Linked DNA regions of Homo sapiens: region 2 is linked to region 1. Evidence: promoter capture Hi-C in 16 types of primary human blood cells and fetal thymus (Javierre and others, 2016). All regions are on one chromosome and are shown on one strand. The core of a region is centred on a gene start or on the middle of the fragment in contact, and the rest is flanking DNA. Distances in the headings are between cores, read along the strand shown.

Region 1 (7,020 bases), core at 1,742-4,241:
CCCAAAACATAAACAAAACCAGACAAGCTGGTGGATGAATAATACATTTGGTTGTATGTTTCAGTCAATGATCAAGGATTCACAGAATAGAAACCATTCAAGGTAGCGCAAGATTAGGAAGGTTTGTGGTAGAGACCCAAAATGTAATTTCAAGGCATCAAGGGATTTGGGCTCCCAGAGCCAGGAACCAGACACTCAGGGACTGAGGTCACTCCTTTCACCTCTTGGTCATTTGATCTTCTTCATCTCTGTTCCTCTTCACACATCTGCTTCATTCTTCCAGAGCAGTTGGCTTTCTCTGATTAAACACTTCACACAAGGTCCAACACACAAGTGGTTCAGCTCTAATTTATCACTGTCTTTCATGTCCAGAGCCCAACACTGACTCACCGTTGTTAACGTGTTTCTTAGTTCAAATTTTCAACAGAAAAGGATCTGGTCACTAGCCCAGCAAAGGATGGCTGATCGTATCTAGCTTCAGTTGAGGTGTCAATCTCCTCCCATATACTAGGGTATGTGTGGAAAATTTCATGTAGTTTACAGGCTGAACACTTTAGGAGACCATTGGAAGGGCAGGTGCTTATATAGTAGCTATAGGCAAGGCAAGTAAAGAAGTCCATCTAATTTCCATCCATAACTGATGAAACAGACATATTTTGCTTTCCCATCTTCTACCTTCCAAAATATGGGTGGATATAGGGGAGATAAGGAGGAGTTTGAAAGAACATGCTCTGTCTGCCCAGGACCTAGTCTAGCATCCAAAAGAGGTAACCACAGATTGGCATCACTCAAAGTCAGTCTACATATCCTCAACCATCATTTATGTACATGATTCTACATGTGTTGTCTTCCTCTGGAAATCACTGAGAAATCCATTCTTGGTAATGTTGAAGCCTAAGGATATTCAGAGATCCTGTGGTAGGTTCAATTTTAACCTCATACTTTCTGCTACATTGTGGCATGTGAAAATGGAACATACTTAGATATTAAGGAGGATTCTCCTCCCCTTGGGCTTTTATCTGATCATTTGGAAAATCCTCAGTTAACATGCTGTTACAGTGGTTTGACGGCTCACTTGACAGCTCTGAAATAACATTCTTGACTCTTAGATGACAATCTTGTACCGAAACACAAAACGGCTCTTTTCAGAAATTTAGAACTTCAGCCAAGTTTTGGGTTCAAGAAAATAGTGGTGTGTGGATTTTTTTAAGCTCTCCAAATGGATAAATTGTGTGTAAACTCACTTTCTGTCCAACATCAGCTATTGCACCAAATAATTGAACTGTCATATGTCCCTTGTTCTTGTAATTAAGTTGGCTGCATTGAGGCAGGAATAGTCTGGACTTGGGGGTCATGTTTAAAGGCAGCAACCTAGGGTAAACTTATCCTCCAACCCATGGACAGTCTGAATATCTTTTTTCCCCTCTTTGGAGCTAGAGGCAAAGTGAAGGGAGGAAAGGGTCCACAGGGAGAAGTAGGGGGAGCACTAGCAACAAATGTTGCCAATTTTCACTTTTCCCAGACCATGTGGTCCCTGAAAAGTATGGCTGTGGCCTCTGTGCAATGCCATCATGCCAATGTGCAATCATCTATTTTAGAACCTCAGATGGCATCAACTATTTTAGCTCTTGCCCAGGTACAGCTACTGCACATTCTGGGAGAAGAAAGAGAATAAGAAGACTAATATTCGTATCTTACTGACAAAACAAAACACCTTTAAAACAAAAGGATGATTTATCTGGGCTGAAAATAAAACTCCTGCCTACTGAAGTCTGGTGCAGCTGAGTTATCACGATTTTCGTCCTGTAATTTGTTTTATAGGGTACTAATTAACAGGGCAAAGTCTGAAGCCAAGAAAGTAAATCACATTTTGCTGTTTTCCTTTTCTCTAGCAAGATGCAGACCTGGTCTTTAATTAAAGCGCAAGTTCCAAGGGCGATATCAGCTACCGAAATCGGGAAAACATGGGCCGAAAAGGTCACAGTGAAACCTGCTGTGTAGAGTTCAGAAAAGATAATGGGAAAGAGAGGAATTGCACAGGCAACCTCCAAAAGAAGAGATTGTTTTCCTCAGATGTCCCTGTCTTATCCATCTTTTAACTGCTCCCCATAACTCAGAATTTCTTCCCTGACTCTACTCAACTGAGCATGTACCACAAACATCCTTTTTAAAAATTGGATTTCAGGCCTGGTGAGGTGGCTCACACCTGTAATAACAGCACTTTGGGAGGCCGAGGCGGGTGGATCACACGAGGTCAGGAGTTCGAGACCAGCCTGACCAACATGGCGAAACCCCATCTCTACAAAAATTAGCTGGGCGTGGTGGCGTACATCTGTAATTCCAGCTACTGGGGAGGCTGAGGCAGGAGAATCGCTAGAACCCAGGAGACAGAGGTTGCAGTGGGCCGAGATCGGGCGACTACACTCCAGCCTGGGCGACAGAGTGAGACTCTGTCTCAATAAATAAATAAATAAAATTTTTAAAAAGTGAATTTCTTTTCCCAGATAATTCCTGTTTCGGGAACGGCATTTTTTTTTAAAGGTAGCTACTTTCCCATCAAACACCCCTGTCCCAACCTCCCCCTTCTCCGGGGTTTCTTTTTTGACCTGATCCCTCAGTGATCTTTGACGCTGGGCTTTGCTGCCCGGCAGGTGTCACTCATCCTTCACCCCTCCCCTCCCAGCTCACCCTCTTCGCCGCCTGGTCTCAGGGTCTTCTTCACTCCTTTCTACCTCTCCTTGTCTCTCTCCCATCCCATTCCTGGAAGTTCTGGACTGGAGGTGGTTGCTCTGGCTTCTCCTCCCTCCTAGGACCCTCAGATAGTGTTGGGGGCAGGGGGAGTGCGGCGGGGAGGGCACAGGATGGGCTGGCGAGGAGAGTGAGTGCTGGGCTCGCACCGGGAGCCGGGAGCCTGACGTCACCACGCCCTGCCTGTCAATCTGCAGCGCGCGCCGCTCGCAGCCGCCTTTTCTGCCACCAACTGTATCTCTCACTCGCGGAGCCGGCACAGCGACAGGCGCCCCGCGCTTGCCTCCTCCCCGGCCCGGCCGCCTCCTGCAGGCAGCTGCTCTGTTTGCGCGGGGAGCTCAGCCCGGCGCCCCGCCTCGGCGCCCATGACCAGCGACTTCCAGAAGTCCTGACGCCCCAGGTGAGTGGCCGAGTTCCCAGGGAACTTTGAGGATGTGGGGAGAGGAGGGGAGAAAGATATCCAGGGGACAGGTCTTTCCAGAAGAGGAGAAATGGAGCCAACCTTGACTCCCACCCTCTGCTGCCCCCATACACACACCCTAGTCTCTCCTCCCAGACCCCCTTCGCAGGGGTCTCTGGGCTCCAGGACTCTCCAGGCTTCGCAATGCCAGAAACTTCGCTTTCAGCACCGCGGACAGCGTCTCTGCTGCCCAGCCCCATGGGGATGTCCTGGTCGCGCCGCCACAACCCAGGCGGGACTCTCCCAGGATGACACTCCTAGCTTGGTGCACTCGGGTGCGTGTGCAAATACAGGCAGCCTTGGAGAATTGATCCTTGTGCATGTGAGTGCATGTTGTCCTGGTGTATATCTGCAAAAACTCAGAAGTCCGCGTGGGCATTTCACTCACTCACTCAACAGGTATTTATTTTGGGTTCGCACTTAACCCATGATTCCCCGATTTGCTCTGGGGTCCCAGGGTGGGGTGGGCAACTCAAGTGGGGCAATGCGAGAGGAGGCTCTACGCGTGGGGAAGTTTCCTGGCAGCCTGAAGTGTACACCTGACGCCTGCACTCCCTCCCTATGCAGGGTGCAAATCCGGCCGCGATGAACGCGAGCGCCGCCTCGCTCAACGACTCCCAGGTGGTGGTAGTGGCGGCCGAAGGAGCGGCGGCGGCGGCCACAGCAGCAGGGGGGCCGGACACGGGCGAATGGGGACCCCCTGCTGCGGCGGCTCTAGGAGCCGGCGGCGGAGCTAATGGGTCTCTGGAGCTGTCCTCGCAGCTGTCGGCTGGGCCACCGGGACTCCTGCTGCCAGCGGTGAATCCGTGGGACGTGCTCCTGTGCGTGTCGGGGACAGTGATCGCTGGAGAAAACGCGCTGGTGGTGGCGCTCATCGCGTCCACTCCGGCGCTGCGCACGCCCATGTTCGTGCTGGTAGGCAGCCTGGCCACCGCTGACCTGTTGGCGGGCTGTGGCCTCATCTTGCACTTTGTGTTCCAGTACTTGGTGCCCTCGGAGACTGTGAGTCTGCTCACGGTGGGCTTCCTCGTGGCCTCCTTCGCCGCCTCTGTCAGCAGCCTGCTGGCCATTACGGTGGACCGCTACCTGTCCCTGTATAACGCGCTCACCTATTACTCGCGCCGGACCCTGTTGGGCGTGCACCTCCTGCTTGCCGCCACTTGGACCGTGTCCCTAGGCCTGGGGCTGCTGCCCGTGCTGGGCTGGAACTGCCTGGCAGAGCGCGCCGCCTGCAGCGTGGTGCGCCCGCTGGCGCGCAGCCACGTGGCTCTGCTCTCCGCCGCCTTCTTCATGGTCTTCGGCATCATGCTGCACCTGTACGTGCGCATCTGCCAGGTGGTCTGGCGCCACGCGCACCAGATCGCGCTGCAGCAGCACTGCCTGGCGCCACCCCATCTCGCTGCCACCAGAAAGGGTGTGGGTACACTGGCTGTGGTGCTGGGCACTTTCGGCGCCAGCTGGCTGCCCTTCGCCATCTATTGCGTGGTGGGCAGCCATGAGGACCCGGCGGTCTACACTTACGCCACCCTGCTGCCCGCCACCTACAACTCCATGATCAATCCCATCATCTATGCCTTCCGCAACCAGGAGATCCAGCGCGCCCTGTGGCTCCTGCTCTGTGGCTGTTTCCAGTCCAAAGTGCCCTTTCGTTCCAGGTCTCCCAGCGAGGTCTGAAGGGCTCGCCCCGTGTCCTCTCACCAACACCACACCCCAACAAGCCAGCCTTTGGTAAGCTCGGTGCCTGCTGACGAACTCTGAGATCCCAATGGTGTGAGTCTGACTTTGGAAAGAAAAAGGGACTAAAGAGAAATGTAACAAACTTACAAGGACAAAGAGGCTTGTTGGCACTTTACATATACAGTGTATACATGTGTACATATATATACAAATATTTGTATCTTCTGGAGGTGTTCAGGATGTGGAGCTTCCTATTCTGTGAAAAACCAAGAAAAAGATATGGTTGTATACTCAAATTGTACATCACGTTTGTCAAACGAAGACATTCCAATACTGCTTAATTATAGCACTTTATTTTTAGCTGCTGAACTGCCAAAACAGTGTTGCCATTTTCAAGGGCAGGGAAAAGGGAGTAAAAGGTGTATTTTTGTCGTATGTGATAGAATATTTTGCTGCACATGCATCAACAAATTACAACATGTTTTGTACACGAATAAACCCATTACAAGAATGTAATTTGGGGTATGTCACTGACTATAGAATTACAATTAGCTGAATTGTAAGTGTATGAGTGTCTTTCTTTCCTTTCTTTCTTCCTTTCTTTCTTTCTTGCTTGCTTGCTTTCTCTTGCTTTCTTTCTTTCTCTTTCGTTTGTTCGAGATAGAGTCTCACTCTGTCGCCCAGGCCTGAATGCAGTGGCACAATCATAGCTCAGTGCAGCCTTGAACTCCTGGGCCCAAGAAATCCTGCTTTAGCATCCCTAGTAGCTGGGACTACAGGCATGCCACAGCACTCACCTTACTTTATTTATTTTTTTAAGTTTTTAAAATTTCAGTAGTTTTGAGGGTACAGGTGCCTTTTTTGGTTACATAGATGAGTTCTTTAGTAGTGAATTCTGAGATTTTAGTGCACCTGTCACCTGAGCAGTGTACACTGTACCTGATATGTAATCTTTTATCCCTCACCTCCCTCCCAACCTCTCCCCACTGCAAGTCCCCACAGTCCATTATATCACTCTATATGGTTTTGTGTCCTCATAGCTTAGCTCCCACTTATAAGGGAGATCATATTGTATTTGATTTTTCATTCTTGAGTTACTTCACTTAGAATAATGGCCTCCAGCTTCATCCAGGTTGCTGAAAAAGACATTATTTCACTCCTTTTTATGGCTGAGTAGTATTCCATAGTATATCTATATCTATATCTATCTATCTATCTATCTATCTATCTATCTATCTATCTATCTATCATCTATCTATCATCTTTTCTTTATCCAATCCTTGGTTGAAGGGCAAGTAGGTTGGTTCCGTATCCTTGCAATTGCAAGTTTATTATGTAGCATCATTCTCCTGAGAAAACCTTAACGTAAAAAAATCATATGCATTTGCACATTGTTCATAAACTTTCACTGAAATACCAAATTTATATCATTGTGGTTGGGGAGGGAGGGTGCAGGAAGGGAGTAATATATTCATGTGGCAGTATTCACAGGACAACAAAGGGTTACTGGTGTTATCTGTGCAATTTAGTCTACTCCCTTGGTTAGTGGGTTTGGAAAACAAGTATCCGAGGATGTCCGAAAACATATCTTCCTCTCATTCCCTGTGCACTTGTGAATCCTGAAACCACAACTTTCATTTGTAATTTTTCCAGTATGGCAAGAATTTTAAATGTCTAAAATTCATGTTGACTTAATACATTGTCGCTGGCCAGATCTTGTAGTAAAATGCACAGGCTTGTAAAATGAATAAATTCTTCCAAGACAGAATTCCAAGATATATACCTCCGACCTCATGAGGTACACAAAAGTATATCCAGTATCCTCTCTTGAGGTGCTCTCACCTTCAAAAGAGGGCACTAAAATCCTTAAGCACTAAACATTCTTATTCCACTGATAGATGTGAGTCATGATGATTCCCCTCCTTCCCTTCTTATAGGATGATGTGAGGATAAATTGGAGAACACATGAGGGCATGCTCTGAACCCTCTGTGAATTAATATGCACACCAGCACAAGTCGTTACTACTCTTATGCCTTAGGAAAATACACACAAGCAAATTTATTGAGTTCCTACTATCCTACTATTGAGTTCCTAGACACAATTCCACGGATTGGAATATGGAAGTGAAAAAAAA
Region 2 (7,020 bases), core at 3,743-6,242, 440 kb after region 1:
TGTCAGCATCCCCGCCTGCCTTTGCTTCCCTGTTTTTGGCTTTCCCCATCTGTTCCTGCTCTGACTCTTTCTGTATGGCTCAGGTTTAAACTCCAGAGAGAGAAAATGCAGTTGTACCAGTTGGTCATTGCATCCCCTGTTGGACAAAATTCTAGCACCAGGCCAACTTGCTGGGCTAAACCAGCCTCTGAATGTGCCCTTGGCATAGTTGCCCTTCTCTGTCCAAAGCACAGTAATCAGGGTACTGGGCCACATGGTACAAACCATGGCCACCCACACACAGAGGTTCACCTTTCCTCTGGAAGGCTGGGCAGCTTCCTCAGCAAGGGCTGTTGGCAGGAAAAACGTGGGCTTGGTTGTTAGTGGCCTCTGCTTTCTCTTCCAGTTCTGAAGATTCTCGCACTATGAGACTTTAAAGCCCTCCAATGAAGTTTAGTGTGATATTCCTATTCCTCGAGCAGTCTATGCATTTCTGTGCTAATTTGATACGTTAATTTGATTGCTGTACAGTGGGCTGGTCAGCTGAGAGAGAGTGGGCCTGCCAGGGCTGAGGGAAGAGAAGGGAACGGGCCCAGGCCAGAGCAGTCTGGTGGGGGCCAGCTTGAGTAGAGCTGTCCTGCAGCCACCAGTGACCTTATTGACTTCGCTGTTTCACATCAGCCTCCCATGTCCAGCAACTCTCTCAAAACAGCTCTAATAAACTAAGTTGAAAGGGCAAGCAATCTGTGGCTAAGAATAACCAGCTGCCAGGGAGGAGGAGTGAGCGAGCAATGTGGTGTGTCCTGGCACAGTGGCCTGTCCATCACTGTCCCCTGACCCTATTCAGACACACTCCCAAACTCCCAGAGCATGGACGGAACGACCCCTCAGCTGAAAGCAAGAATTCAAGTACCTGTCTCTGAAAAAGCAGTCTTGGAAGCCACCAAAATCTCTGGCACCAAACCTTGTTTCCCAGTGCCTGGCTGGTCTCATGCCCTGAGAGACAGAGAGAAAGCGAAACTGATTCCCATTGGTGACTTGATTCAGGACATTCCCCCTGGTCTTCCTTTCCATTGGCCTGCATGGCTGTCTCTGTCACCCATTGCCCCGGAGAAAGGAGCAAGTGACCTCAACCTGTCATCTCCATGGCGCTGTCTCTGCCAAGCCCTTCCCTTTCTGGCCCACGAGCCCTCTGTCTGGCCGCCAGCCTGGGCTTTCTCCAGCTGATTTGTAGGTATGGTGAATAATGGGTGAGCCTGTCCAACTTCCAACCTCGTTTGGCTGCCCACAGTTAGCCGGGTGCCTGGCTCTGCTGGGTCAGCTGGTGGGGGAAGCAGGAAGGAGGGGGTGAGGGCTGAGTAATGTTGTTGATTGATTGGAGCTGGAAACACTATTCAGGAGATAATCTAGGATAGAACCACATGATTCTTTAGCCCAGCAGTCCCCAGCCTTTTAGGCACCAGGGGCTGGTTTCATGGAAGACAATTTTTCCACAGACTGGGGATGGGGAGATGGTTTCAGGATGATTCAAGTGTGTTACATTTACTGTGCACTTTATTTTTATTATTATTCGTTGTAATATATAATGAAATAATTATACAACTCAACATAATGTAGAATTAGTGGGAGCCCTGAGCTTGTTTTCCTGCAATTAGATGGTTTTCTCTGAAAGTAATGGGAGGCAGTGACAGATCATCAGGCATTAGATTCTCATAAAGAGCACACAAACTGGATCCCTTGTGTGCGCAGTTTACAGTAGGTTTGTGCTCCTATAAGAATCTAGTGCCTCAGCTGATCTGACAAGAGGCAGAGCTCAGGCAGTAATGCAAATGATAGGGAGTGGGTATAAATGAAGACAAAGCTTTGCTTGCTCACCCACGGCTCACCTCCTGCTGTGAGGCCAGTTCCTAACAGGCCACGGACTGGTAGTGGTCTGTGGCCTGGGGATTTGGGATCCCTGATTTAGCCCACATATTCAAAGAAGGGATTCAATATTTGATGAGTGTCTACTGAGCTCTAGGCATGAGGCACAGTTAACAAGTTTGTTTCCAGGGAGGCAGTGTGATGTGTCAAATTAGTGACAATAATATTTTCAATAATGTATATGTAGCATTAACCATGTGCTAGACACATGTATGACATCATATATCACAACCACCCTATGAAGTAGGTACTATTATCACTATCCCCATTTTGTATATGAGTACATTGAGGCTCCAAGACAGTAAGGAAGGGTCCAGGGTCTCTTAAATGGTAAAATCCAGTCTGGATATCTGACGTCAAGGCTCAAGCTCTTTTTTTTTTTTTTTTTTTTTTTTGAGATGGAGTCTCGCTCTGTCACCCAGGCGGGAGTGCAGTGGCTCTATCTCAGCTAACTGCAAGCTCTGCTTCCTGGTTTCATGCCATTCTCCTGCCTCAGCTTCTCTAGTAGCTGGGACTACAGGCGCCCGCCACCACACCTGGCTAATTTTTTGTATTTTTAGCAGAGACGGGGTTTCAACATGTTAGCCAGGATGGTCTCGATCTCCTGACCTTGTGATCTGCCCGCCTCGGCTTCCCAAAGTGCTGGGATTACAGGCTTGAGCCACTGTGCCCAGCCAAAGCTCAAGCCCTTAACCAAAACACAAACTTTGGTTTCAAGAGACCTGCATTTTTACCTTGAGCAAATCACCTGACTTCTGAGTTGGATTGCCCATCTGAAAACTGAGAATGAACTAAGAATCCCTTGCAAGTTGTTGTAGGTCTCTGATAAGTTGAGATATGTACAATTCTTTGTAAGGTGGTCTGAGGGCCGGTGAGGGGGTGGTGGGGAAAAGCAACTTTTTCTCTGGCTATGCTCAATACTGTCACAGTCACTGAATACAGAACACTTTCTGTGACCAGGTGTGTGGGGGTTGTCTCCCTACACACCAAGCATCCCATTCTGCAGATTCCCTAGCAGACACTTCAGCTGCATGTCCTCTAATTCAATTCAATTCTGACACCAGCTACCTGGAGATAGTGTCAGATCCCACAGGTTAAGGGCTCAGTCCCACAAGACTTACCCTACTTTGGATGCCAATCACAAGCCCCAGGTTGTGGGTTTCTGACTGGTGGGCTATAAATCGGGGTCCCTACAAGCCCCTTTTCAGGTTCAATTAATAATGGTTCAATTTGCTAGAGTGGCTCCAGAACTCAAAAGAACACTTTGCTTACCTTTACCCATTTATTAATATGGATATTACAAAGGATGCAGATGAAGAGCCATGTGGAAGAGAGGGCCAGGGCTAGGCATATGGGAACGGGCAAGGAGCTCCCGTGCCCTCTCTGGGGGCACAACGTCCAGGAACCTCCACATATTCAGCCATCTGGAAGCTCCCTAAACACAGTCTTGTGTTTTTCCTTTTTTTTTTTTAATGAAAGCTTTATTATGTAGACATGATGGTTAAAACATTGGCCACTAGTGACCAACTTAACCTTCAACCCCTTCTCCCTAGAGGTTGGGGATAGGGCTGAAAGTCCCCACTCTCTAATCATGTCTTGTCATTTCCAGATGACCAGCTCCCATCCTGAAGCTTACTACAGGGCTCCAGCCACCAGATATCTCATTAGCATACAAAAGACACTCTTATCACTCTGAGGATTCCAAGGGTTTTAGGAGCTATATGTCAGGAAATGGGAATGAAGACCAAATACATAGTTCCCAGTATCACAGGTGGTATACATATTTTATTGAGCACCTACTATAAAAATCAATCAACAAACATTTATGGAGCAGCCACTTTGTCCAAGACATACTGCAAGGGCTATAAAAGATTTAAGAACTTCTGAGATGTTTGCTCCCTCAAGAAAGGAAACAAGGCAGAATAAGACTGTCCTCTAACCAACAGCACATACTGCAGGTGCTGGGAAGGATCAGGAGAGAGAGGAGTACAGTGGACCCAAGTGGCTAGTCCAGGAGCGTACATGGGAAGTGAGGAAGGCCCTAATCAATCAGTGGGATTTCGATGGACAAACAAGAGGAGGGAGAAAAATCTCTGGAGAGACAAAGCCACAGAGGCAGGAAGTTCAAAGTGACCTGAGGAAAGAGAAGGGGGTTCATGGGGAGGTTTGTGCAAGACCAGGGTGTGAAAGTGCTGGAAATCTGGCTAGGATGCAAGACTGTGTTCAAAAAGTAATGGGAGCCACGGAAGAGATCTGAGAAGGCTCTTTCTTCCTCCCGCCCAGGTTAGGACTCCATGTTTTCCTGAAAAGCAAGAAGAGGAGGACATACTCAGAAATGAAACCCAGAAAGAAAGCTTCTCTGTAGTAGTGCAGAGTCTATACAGATAGGACTAATAAATCCTTTTTTTTTTTTTAAACGCAGAGCTCTAGCACTATGACTTAAGTGAAGGGTCCTTCAGAAAATGGATGGGAAAACTGATTTAGGTATCATTGAGGGTAACTTCTAAAAGGGGCCTCAGGAACCACCTGGGGAGAATCTAGTGTTGTTTTCCAGGTTAGTGGTTGGGGTCTGAAGTGTTGACGTGATCTCCCTGAGACTGCAGGGGAGCTGGGCTTCATCATCTTCCCAACGCTTCTTCGGAGACTTTTAAACTTGGGCTGCAGAGGTCCCCAGGGCCTCACCTCTGCAGCACATTTAGGGTCTCTCTAGCCACCCTCCCCCTCTTGCTGTGCTCTCCATGGGTGTTTCTGGCTTGCAGGGTGTTAGCCTTGCTGGTGTGTCTGTGGCCAGTAAATGCAGGACCTAAGCCTGCGTTCATCAGAAGACTATTGAAGATATCAGGCTCAGGGGCCAGGGATTCCCATGTGTACAGCAGTTTGGGGCAGGGAAGTAGGACAGTGAAATCGTCCTCATAGGGTTAATGAGATTATAAGCCAGGCTTTATGGAGAATTCTAGTTAAACATTGACCAGGGTGGGTTGGTGTACTTTTGACCTGCTCCCCTGAAACTGCTAACTAATCAAGAATCAGGTAGCATGCTGACCACCTGCTCCCCCAACTTGTTCCTACAGATAAAATCTCTGACAGTGGATCTTTTACCCAAGAATTGCTTAAGATGTTCTTCAGATCCTCAATTTCAGCAGAATGGCTGACACCAACTGGCATGGGTGAGCCCAGAGAGAGGCTGGGAATTAAAAAAAAGTTTACTTAGAGAACAAGCAGTTGCCAGTGAAACGTTGGTGCACTGTAGACTTCAGACATAAAAACAGCAGCCATCACTGACTTCTGGCAAATTCAAGTAAAACAACAAACATCGAAACTTCCAGACATTCTGTTGGGGGAAGTTGCCAAAGACGTTGGCTGCCATAGTCAGCTTTACCATCTTCGATAAGAAAATACTCCTCTTCACCATATACAAGAATTTATTAAGTACCTGCTTTGCCTACACCATTTTGCACTTAGTATGTTTTCGTTACATATTTGATAGGAATGAGAGAAAGGGCACAGGTGGGCCCCTCAGAACAGAGCATTTAATTGAGTACATTCGGAGCATATTTTGAGTATGAACCTCCCTAACAACACACCTTTTAACAGTGATTCAGGGGAAAGATTCAGCTTTTGTGGGGTCTGAAGTTTGTACAGTTTCAAGAGCCCTTTTAAGAGGAAAAAAATACAAAATCACAAAAGAAAAGAATGCCTGTGACCACTTTGATAACATCTGGCAGAGGAGGAATGTGATAGAAGGGAAAACCAAGTGGAAAAATATGATGGTCTCAGCTGATTGTAGTGACTAGATCTTACTTTTGCAAAATGTACAAAATTCTGTGAAAGCTTATGTCCAAGTGGACCCATTACTACGCTCCATCACAGGAGCCTGTCCAACTGAAGGAGCCTGAAGTTTATGCGTCATTAGCTTCAGTGAGTCTTGCCTACAGCTATCATGGACTGGAACTAACCACTGGAGCAAAAGGGAAACTGCAGAAGTATCTCCAGGTAGCTAAACTGCAGAGTCCATGAGGGAGGACAACAGTGTGTGGTAGGGCACAGTCAGGACAGCGACACATGTGGAGCACTGATAGACGGGGCCCCCATGCCCACTGGCCAAGACCAAGACTGGGCAGGACACCTAATGAGGGTGGAATCACATACAGTGAATGGAGAAATAGCCTTGTAAAATATCGGGACTGTGCAGAGTGGCGTTAAATGGTGTTGATATATTATTTCATTTAATTTTCCCATTCCCAGAGGGACATTGTATGATAATCCTGAATTTCCAAATGAGAAGATTGGGGTAAAGAGAGATTGGTTTGCTTAAGCAGGAATGCTTATAGTCAGGGCTTTTTTATTTCCAGGCTTCCATTGCCTCTCACACTTCGTAGCCTGTCAAAGTCAAGTTAGTGCATTAACCTCAGTGACATAGAACTGAGAAACAAGGTCACCTATCTGAATCTTACCTACTTGTGTGTGGTTTGTCCTCCATTCATTGTAATGCTATGGTAAAGTACTCCTTGAAATATTTGCAATCAGAGACAGATCGGATGTGTTATGACTAGGTTCCAACTATTATAGATCATCACCATTTTCCAAGTATAAAATCAGAAGGTTACACATATTAAGAAATGCTGAAGGAACAAAGTATGTTTGGCTTCCTGCACGATAAACATTTGTGAATTTTTACAACAAACAAAAAGCCTAATTTTTCTTCCAGTAAAGAAAAAGAAATTTTTTTTTTTTTTTTTTTTTTTTTTTTTTAGACAGAGTTGCCCAGGCTGGAGTGTAATGGTATGATCTCGGTTCACTACAACCTCTGCCTCCAAGGTTTGAGGAATTCTCCTGCCTCAGCCTCCTGAGTAGCTGGGCTTACAGGTGTACACCACCATGCCTGGCTAGTTTTTTTGTATTTTCAGTAGAGATGGGGTTTCACCATGTTGGCCAGGCTGGTCTCGAATTCCTGGCCTCAAGTGATCCACCTGCCTCAGCCTCCCAAAGTGCTGGAATTATGGGCATAAGCCACTGCACCCTGCCCCAATAAAGAAAATTTTTTCCTTTTGAATTAAAACTACTTTAATCAAGGTTGATGGATACAAAATCAACATATAAAATCAATGTATTTTATGC

Evidence for each region. Contacts are between HindIII fragments. The CHiCAGO score rates a contact against its expected background, and 5 or more counts as called.
Region 2: a fragment that was not itself captured here is called in contact with the fragment with the promoter of GPR6 in region 1 in 2 of 17 cell types (non-activated CD4 T cells and total B cells); the score reaches 5.8 in non-activated CD4 T cells.

The regions. Positions count from the first base shown.
Region 1 is chr6:109,975,320-109,982,339 of GRCh38, forward strand. It overlaps GPR6 (G protein-coupled receptor 6), which reads left to right and starts at 2,992. Exons shown (of 2, transcript NM_005284.5): 1 at 2,992-3,148; 2 at 3,776-5,401. The coding sequence starts at 3,794. The coding sequence ends at 4,882. RefSeq lists a silencer at 3,321-3,484 and an enhancer at 3,423-4,228. The HindIII fragment of the contact is 13,256 bases long and covers 1-7,020 here.
Region 2 is chr6:110,414,575-110,421,594 of GRCh38, forward strand. LOC105377936 (a long non-coding RNA gene) reads left to right here and starts at 1,070. Exons shown (of 2, transcript XR_942856.2): 1 at 1,070-1,213; 2 at 4,974-5,556. It overlaps DDO (D-aspartate oxidase), which reads right to left and starts at 1,001. Exons shown (of 5, transcript NM_001372108.2): 1 at 893-1,001. The HindIII fragment of the contact is 1,477 bases long and covers 4,255-5,731 here.